Linked DNA regions of Homo sapiens: regions 1 and 3 are each linked to region 2. Evidence: promoter capture Hi-C in 16 types of primary human blood cells and fetal thymus (Javierre and others, 2016). All regions are on one chromosome and are shown on one strand. The core of a region is centred on a gene start or on the middle of the fragment in contact, and the rest is flanking DNA. Distances in the headings are between cores, read along the strand shown. Region 1 has its middle 47 kb from the start of OR6J1. Region 2 holds the start of MRPL52 (mitochondrial ribosomal protein L52). Region 3 holds the start of AJUBA-DT (AJUBA divergent transcript).

Region 1 (2,904 bases), core at 180-2,679, 140 kb before region 2:
GAGTATTACTGTAAGTGAGCAAAATTCCTCACCTGTTATTTAAAGTAGATAAATCAAATTGCTTAAAGTAGATAAATCAAGAAATAGTAGTATAAACATATTATTTTGGAATAGTAGATATAACCACCTGTAATCCCAGCACTTTGAGAAGCTGAGGTGAGCAGATTGCTTGAGGTCAGGAGTTTGAGACCGGCCTGGGCAACATGACAAAACCCTGTCTCTCCAAAAAAAAAAAAATTAGATGGGTGTGGGTGCATGCACCTGTAATCCTAGCTATTTGGGAGACTGAGGTGGGCGGATCACTTGAGCCCACCAAGTCGAGGCTGCAGTGTGCTGAGATCACACCACTGCACTGCAGCCTGCATGACAGAGCAAGACCCTGTCTCAAAAAAAAAAAAAAGAATAGTACACATAACTAACACATGAATTTAAAACAAAATGGTGAAAAAATAATAAAATAATAATTTATTTAATTGATATAATCAATAAAAATTCCATTTGATATTAATAGTAATGGCAGCTCTACAGGTGAGACTATCAGAGATATCGTGGGACAAAATAGAAGGTAAAGGAAGGAAACTAACTATATTAAGCACCTATTTTGTGAGTAAAATGAGGTTCTGAGAGAAAGGGTAACCCAGCCAGCAGATTGCAGAGCCAGTGTATACATCCATATTTATCTGACTGTAAGGTCAAAGTCTTTTCCACTGTATCAAGTAATTGACCAAGAGACACTAGCTCTCAGAGCAGCAGAATGTTGCCACATTTTTATTGACAAAGAATTAATAACATAAATTATGTTTATATTGCAAAGTTTATTTAGGGAAATTTGATACTCCTTTTTACATTTTACATAAATTTATTGAGTTATAACACTGCCTGATGCCAGGTAAAGCAAATACACATCTGGGTTCAGAGACTCACGTGTGCAACAAATTTAACTTTCTGGATATTTTAAAAACTCAGCTTAATTTCCCTAGGTGCCTCATTAGCCTGATGGCAGAAATTAAATCTCAGGCAATTCTGGGTTCTCCCACAAGTACACTTTTCTTCAGAGTTGTGCTGAAGTTCTGAGGAGGATGGGAAGGGACTAGGAAATGGCCAGTCCTTTGCCCATCTATCCTCTGGCATTCTCCCACCCTGTCCCAGGTTGTCAGTCCACACAGGTGGCTGGTGCATCACTCCTCATTCTTCTCAGTGAGGTCCTTGAAGCTTGGGCAGCTCTCCCTGCTACTTCTTTACCTCTCTCAGGCACTCTATACCTCATTACTCTATTTCTGCACCTCTGAGCTGCAGAAAACTCCTTGATGCTCTTGAAAATCCCACCTGCCTAGAAACTTTATGTAGCCTCTTCTCCTCTGTGGTATTGCCATTGCCTGAAGGCCCTTTCCAGAAAGCAAATCACAAGTTTTTTCTGTTCTCAGACCCACAACTCTATGTGTGGTTCTATCATTTCCCCTTTCAGACTTGGCCAGGAATTAGGAAAGGCAAAGCACTATGCCCCTTTCTGGAGCCCCATTAGCTCTGAACTGTCCTTTCTTCTCTTTCAAGTCTCCTCTTTCTCCCTAGTGTGCAGAATCTGAGGAAGTAAAAAGGCATGTTCTGACCCATCAGCTTTTTTCCACTCCATGAGTCTTAAACTTCAGAAAAGCTTTACTCTTCCTTCTGCATCATTTCTTTCCCAGTCTACCTACCCAAATTGAGAGGAATAAGAAATACTCATAAAAAATCATGGTTTTCCACACAGTGGCTTATCAAAACAAAATCATGGTTAACATTTCAATCTATATGATGTCACCATATAAGTACTTGTGCCAGATGCTGGAAATACAAAGAAAAATGTGATTAAATTCCTGCTGTCAGGATGTGTCCAGGGTCACATTGTTAGTAGGCGGATACAAAGAAAAAAACAGAAGTGATGATACAGTATTTAGTGCAATATCAGAACTATTTATAGACAAGAGAAGTATGATTGGGTGGAGGGAAGGGGGAAGTACTTAGAAAAGTTTTCCAATGGAAAACTCAACCTGCTTTTGGCCAAGGTCGGGAAAACATTTCAAGTAGGAAGAACAGCATATGCAAAGGCGTGGGAGCCCAAGAGAATGTGATAACTTTCATAACACATGCAGGTTTGTTACATGGGTGAATTGTATGGTGCTAAGGTTTGGGGTATGACTGAACCCAGCACCCAGGTAGTGAGCATAGTACCTGATAGGTAGTTTTTCCACCCTCTCCCCCACTCCCTACCTCCCCTATCTTGTAGTCCCCAGTGTCTATTTTTTCCATCTTTTTGTCCATGTGTACCCAATATTTAGCTTCTACATATAAGCGAGATCATGCGATATTTGGTTTTCTGTTTCTGCTTTAATTCACTTAGGATAATGCCCTTCAGTTGCATACATGTTGCTGCAGAAAACTATGATTTCATTCTTTTTAATGGCTGCATAGCATTCTTTGTTATATAGGTACCATATTTTCTTTATCCAATCCACTGTCAGTGGGCACCTAGGTTGACTCCATGTCCTTGCTATTGTGAGTAGTGCTGCAATGAACATGCAAGCACATGTCTTTTTGGTAAAACAGTTTATTTTCTCTTGGATATATACCCAGTAATGGGATTGCTGGGTTGAATGGTAGTTCTGTTATAAGTTCTTTGAGAAATCTTTAAAAAACTTTCCACAGTGACTGAACTAATTTACATTCTTACCAACAGTGTGTAAGTGTTCCATTTTCTCTGCAGCCTCACCAGCATCTGTTGTTTTTTGGCTTTTTAATATAGCCTTTCTGACTGGTATGAGATAGTATCTCTTTGTGGTTTTGATCTGAATTTCTCTGATAATTAGTGATATTGAGCATTTTTTCATGTTTGTTGGCTGCTTGAAAGTCTTCTTTGGAGAAGTGACT
Region 2 (3,178 bases), core at 523-3,022:
CAGGAAGTCCTGAAGACATGTGCCCAAGGTGGTCCGGGCGTAGCTTGGTTTTATACATTTTAGGGAGACATGAAAATGTAAGAAGTCACATTAGTTCTGTCCAGAAAGGCAGAGACAGCTCAAAGCAAGGCCCCCTCACTGGGGGCCCCCAGGTCACATGTAGGTGAGAGACAGATGGTTGCATTATTTTGAGTTTCTGACAAGTCTTTCCAGAAGAGGTAGTCAGAATATGCATCTGTCTCTGTGAGTAGACAGATGACTTTGGATAGAATTGGAGGCAGATTTGCCCTGAGTGGTTCCCAGGTTCTCAGCTTGAAGAGGACCAAGATATTTTCCCTTCACACCTGGCAGACAGTTAATGGGCTCTTTTGTAGGAGTTTCAGGATTTATAAAGCACTTTCACTCACATTATCACTTTTAGATCGTTTTCACAAATGTAACATATTAAGCATTTTTAAAATTAAAAAATGAAGGATAAATGACTTCTCCAAGACAGTACTGAATAGCAAGTGATAAAAGGAGGGGAGTCGCCAATCAGGGTTTGCCACTTTCTAGTACCTACCTCACAGGGTTGTTGCAAGGATAATATTAAGCAATGTGCGGTGGTAGCACTTATAAAAATGGAATGTCACATCTTAGCTCCAATACAATACCCCTTTCTCAGGAAAGTCATCTTTGATGGTCTACTGTAGATCAAGTTCACACTATAAACTCACAAACAACATGTATTTCCTTTCCCAGCACTCAATGACAATATTCATGTATGTCATCATTTGATTGTCTGTTTTTTTTTTTTTAGTTGGAGTTTCACTCTTCTTGCCCAGACTGGAGTACAATGGCGCAATCTTGGATCACCACAACCTCTGCCTCCCGGGTTCAAGCAATTCTCCTGCCTCAGCCTCCCGAGTAGCTGGGATTACAGGCATGTGCCACCATGCCTGGCTAATTTTGTATTTTTAGTAGAGACAGGGTTTCTCCATGTTGGTCAGGCTGGTCTCGAACTCCCAACCTCAGGTGATCCGCCAGCCTCAGCCTCCCAAAGTGCTGGGATTACAAGTGTGAGCCACTGCACCTGGCCTGTCTTGTTTCTTTTATACCGAGAGCTCTATCAGGATATTGATGTCTGGTTTTGTTCTCCATAAAATCTACGCCTAATACAGCACTTATCACACAGAATTTTTTTTGAGACAAGGTCTCGCTCTGTTACCCAGACTGGAGTGCAGTGGCATGATCTCTGCTTACTGCAGCCTTCGGCCTCCCAGGCTCAAGCCATCCTCCCACCTCAGCCTCCCAAGTAGCTGGGACCACAGGCATGCGCCACCACACCCAGCTAATTTTTCATTTTTTTGTAGAGAGGGAGTTTCGCCATGTTGCCCAGGCTGGCCCAATTTCCGATTAACTCTAGATTTGATTACTTTTCTTAGTCTAGGAAAACTGTGTTACAGTGATGCGAGGATCTGTAGAATGACGTGGATGTTACCCCTGAGATCAAAGTTACTATTAATATCAATTTCAATGAACTAGAGACCGCTGTAGGGAGGTTGTGGGAACTGTTCAGAACGGCTTAATCTGGGAGGACACGACTTCCACTGAGAATGCATGCGCTGAACGACAATTCGTTTTCACCTCAAAAACCTGTACTGCAGTTTTGTCTCTCCTTCCGTACGATGACCCAAGATGGCGGAGCCGTGATTGAAAACCCAGATTCAAGATGGCGACTTCCTGCTTCCCCGATAGCGTCGCGCGTGGCCACCGAGGCCACGCCTACTTCCGGCTACCCCGGCTACTCCTGCTCAGCATGGCTGCTTTAGGGACTGTTCTCTTCAGTGAGTGGGTATAGATAGGGACCGTGGACTCGGGGGCCCTTTGGGGACGGGCACAGGACCCCTGATCCGGCTGCGCGGCCTCTCCCCCAACTCTGCTCTGTTCTCCCAGCAGGTGTCCGGAGGCTGCACTGCAGCGTAGCCGCTTGGGCGGGCGGCCAGTGGCGACTACAGTGAGTCCTGGGATGAGGGCACCTGGGGGACCAGAAGCTGGGCTAGGTCCTCACAGATCTGTTTTTCTCCACACAGGCAGGGACTGGCTGCCAACCCCTCCGGCTACGGGCCCCTTACCGAGCTCCCAGACTGGTCATATGCGGGTAAGCGCTGATCTGGCAGTTAACTCCACTGGGGAGATTTTCACCTAGAGGGAACGCCCCTGGACGGGGAGCTGGGGGTATCAAGGTGGGGGCGTGTAAAAGTGTTTAACTTTTTATTTGGAAAACGGAATTTGGGGAAAGAAACCCTCTTGTTTATTTTGTAGATTGCATTTCGACTAAGGAAGGTAAAGCTAAACAGGATCTTGGCTTGTGGAGATAAGCAGAAGATAATTCTGACTTGGGGCCGCCAGGGTGGAAGGGGGTGACAAGACTTCTGCGTTTTTCAAAGGGGGACATTTTTTTTTAACCAAGAACCACTTTTCTCTGTGGTTAGTGAATTTTCAGTATTTGGTACCAAATGCAGGGAGAGCTCTTTGAAAAGCTGCAGAAATAAGCGTCTCAGAGGGGTAGAAGGATGAAGACTATGGATGGCAGGCTCCCTTCAGAAAATTCTTTTACCTTTACTTACAAAAGAGAGAGGGAGGGAGAATAAATATTAGCCCTAGAAGGGAGAACCTTAGAGAAGTTGAAGCTACTCCCCATTCTCCTTATGAGACTCCAGTGTACAAGTAGGAAATTTGAGGCCTACAGAAGTGAATTGCACATGATCATACAGCTAGGTAGTAGCAAATCCAGGACTAGAACATAGGCCAGTCCTCCTTGACAACACAGAGATCTGAATATTTAATACCCTATTGTTGCTCTCTAGGGGTATGATCCTGCTTAATTGGATAATTGGTGACTGAGGAAGATGGTGAAGATTTTTTCTACTTGTTATTTACTGTAAGAAGCCTGGCATCTCCTTGTAGTAGTATGGACTATTGGAAAGACTCTGGAATTACATATGACTGCTTTTTTTTTTTTTTTTTTTTTTTTGAGATGGGGTCTTGCCCTGTCACCCAGGCTGAAGTGCAGTGGCATGATCATCGCTCACTGCAGCCTTGATCTCCTGGGCTCAAGCAGTCCTCCCACCTCAGCCCCCCAAGTAGGTGGGACCACAGGCACACACCACCATTCCTGGCTAATTTTTTTTTTTAA
Region 3 (2,984 bases), core at 265-2,764, 160 kb after region 2:
TCAGACCAGCCTGGCCAACATGGTGAAGCCCTATCTCTACTAAAAATACAAAAATTAGCCAGGCGTGGTGGCGCACGCCTATAGTCCCAGCCACTCGAGAGGCTGAGGCGGGAGAATCGCTTGAACCCGGGAGACAGAGGTTGCAGTGAGCCAATATCACGGCCACTGCACTCCAGCCTGGGCGACAGAGCAAGACTCCGTCTCAAAAAAATTCTCAAAAATAAATAATAATTTTTTTTAAAGAAACCCTAGATGAAGCTAAACATACCTAATTAAATACCAGCCAACGGCCGGGAGCGGTGGCTCACGCCTGTAATCCCAGCACTTTGGAAGGCAGAGGCGGCGGGATCACGAGGTCAGGAGTTTGCAACCAGCCTGGCCAGTATGGTGAAACCCCGTCTCTACTAAGAATACAAAAATTAGCCGGTGTGGTGGCGTGCACCTGTAGTCCCAGCTACTTGGGAGGCTGAGGCAGAAGAATCGCGTGAACCCAGGAGGCGGAGGTTGCAGAGAGCCGAGATTGTGCCATTGCACTCAGGCCTGGGCGATAGAGGGAGATTCCGTCTCAAAAAAATTTTTTAAAAACCAGCCAACTACTTTTGCCCAGACTAAAACATCAGGGGCAAGGGGTGGAGGAAGTAGAATGGAGAAGGAAAATGACTCCTTTGTATTTAGATAGTAAATGAGTATGAAAATTATATGCAAACAAGTCATGCATATTATTTTCATCTCAACATTTTGAACACCTTTTATAATCTTAGTGTAGCCTTAGGGAATGTGGAAAGAAACGAGGTTAATATCTTTTGGGAAATTAATTTGTGCCAAACTATTTGGCTTCTTCGTCCTAGTTGCATTGTCTCCCTGACCTCATCTCCCCTGAGAATCAGCCTCTGTTTCCCTGGTCAAGGCCACGGCTTTTCTCTGATCCTGAGGAGAGTTTCCTACCAGAGTGGAAGCAGGGAGGACTGAAAGCACTAGGAACAGAGGGGAGCTATCGGATTGCATCTAGAACCTGCTGTGAGCAACATCTTCAGAATTAACCATAATGTGTTCCCTCCTTTCCTGTGTCCAGATGAGGAAGGAGAACTTTGATTCTTCCTTCCAATTACATCCAAAATATCCACACAACTACTAATATTTGGAAGCTTTGATCCTTTGGGGTGAGGATGCGAGAGGAAATCTTATGAAATGTTGGGAGGCCATTAAAGGAGGCCCATGCAAGAGTTGGTGGTAGCAATGGGCACAACTGGGATGAACAGCCTGTGTTTTCAAGGGATAACTGGAAGCAGAGATGAGTGAAGGGGAAGAAGTAGAAGACGCATATGCTAATAGGGCATGCTCCAATAGTGCTCATGACCTCAGGTGGCCTCTCCACAGTCTAAACTGGAGCTGGGATCTCCAAAGGCCCTCTTCGTTCCCAAGACTTTAATTATAATCTGTATATGCAGGTGACTCCCTAATCCATATTTCCAGCCCAGTCTTTCTTGGAATTAAAAACTCAACTAACTACTAGCATCTCCAATGGCTGTCTCAGAAGCACCCAATATCCTAAACTGATCTCATCTTCTCTGCCTCATGAAACTGGCTCCTCTAACATTCTCTGAGTAAATGGCACAATCCTGTTAGCTGCTTAAACTAGAAATCTGAGCGTCAACCCTATGTCCTCCTTCTCCCTTAACCTCAAATCCAACCAAGTCCTATCAATCACCAAGTTCTATTAATTCTGCTTCCTAAACATCTTCCAAATCTGTCCTCCCCTCATCACCACTATATATGTCAAGTCACCGTCTTTCCTCTCCGAAACCAATGCAAAAGTCTCCTGGCCAAGGCTTGCTCCCTGCAATCCATCTTATACCCTGAGGTCAAGTGATTTTTTTCAGTACAGAAGCTTTACGACTTACAATGGAGTTATGTCTGAATAAACCCATCCATTATAAATTGAAAATATCGTAAGGCAGAAGTGCTTCTTCAACTTCACCATATTTTCAGCTTAAAATGGGTTTATCTGATATAACTGCATCATAAGGTGAGGAGCATACTGAATCATTTCGCACCATCGTAAAGTTGAAAAATCCTAAGTCGAACCATCGTTGAGTTGGGGACTGCCTGTAGGCAAAACCTGTCGTTTTATTTCCCTGCTAAAACAAACTTTCAATGATTTCTCACTGCCCTTGGGTTGAAGTCTGTACTCTGTATTATGAGGTCTGTCTCACTCTCCAGCCTCTCCTCTAGCATTATCCCTTCCCCAAAAGTCTGCAGTAGAACTGGACCTTGTCTGTACTCTCTCTTGCCCCTGGACTTTTGTACCTGCAGTTCCCTGTTTGGAACACTCTCTTAGCCTCCCCTTTCCTTCTGGTTAACTCTTCCCCAGTTTAGACATTACACCCTCTCAGAAGAAGCCTTTCCAGACTGCAAGAGTAGGTTAGCTACCCCTGCTGTATATTGCCATAGTGCACTACACTCCACCATGGTCACCCTTATCACAGTTCATTTCATTGCCTACTCCACTGCCTGGCTTCCTGACTAAACTAAAAAAATCTCTGAACAGCATCCAACCTTATCAACAATGTATCCATAGCACAGTACCTGACACCTAGTAAAGCGATCAATGTTTGTTATAAGACTGAATAAATGTAAAGCCATTTTTGCTTTTCAATCCATCCAAAATGCACACCCCTTCCTCAAAATACAGCTTGGCTGACAGGACCAAGAAACAGCTACAAAGCTGTGTATTTTGCTTGGTCACATAGTGAGAGAGAGGCTGCCGGTGAGACACGGGAACTCTTTAAGCCTTAATTTCCTCATCTGTAAGATAGGAATAGTAAAATTTTCCTCATGTAATTCAATAAACAATAGCTATTATATCAGGAACCCAATTCCCCAATAGTGATAGAACTTGTGTTCCCTTGGTCAGAAGACTCAAGCTCATGACTGAAACTGCCCACCAGGTGGCGGTATTAACCTGCACTGGTCATGTTCGGTTT

What was found. Contacts are between HindIII fragments. The CHiCAGO score rates a contact against its expected background, and 5 or more counts as called.
Region 1: a contact is called between a fragment that was not itself captured here and the fragment with the promoter of MRPL52 in region 2, in 3 of 17 cell types (endothelial precursors, M2 macrophages and M0 macrophages). The highest score is 6.8, in endothelial precursors.
Region 3: a fragment that was not itself captured here is called in contact with the fragment with the promoter of MRPL52 in region 2 in 1 of 17 cell types (erythroblasts); the score reaches 5.3 in erythroblasts.

Annotation. Positions count from the first base shown.
Region 1 is chr14:22,689,505-22,692,408 of GRCh38, forward strand. No RefSeq gene overlaps it. Among named protein-coding and RNA genes, the nearest start is that of OR6J1, 47 kb to the left of the region's middle. The HindIII fragment of the contact is 439 bases long and covers 1,211-1,649 here.
Region 2 is chr14:22,828,115-22,831,292 of GRCh38, forward strand. MRPL52 (mitochondrial ribosomal protein L52) reads left to right here and starts at 1,773. Exons shown (of 5, transcript NM_180982.3): 1 at 1,773-1,826; 2 at 1,939-1,996; 3 at 2,073-2,140. The coding sequence starts at 1,799. RefSeq lists an enhancer at 1,677-1,756. The HindIII fragment of the contact is 15,350 bases long and covers 1-3,178 here.
Region 3 is chr14:22,983,804-22,986,787 of GRCh38, forward strand. It overlaps C14orf93 (chromosome 14 open reading frame 93), which reads right to left. Exons shown (of 7, transcript NM_021944.4): 7 at 2,091-2,984. AJUBA-DT (AJUBA divergent transcript) reads left to right here and starts at 521. Exons shown (of 3, transcript XR_007064074.1): 1 at 521-1,017. RefSeq lists a silencer at 2,928-2,984. The HindIII fragment of the contact is 743 bases long and covers 1,144-1,886 here.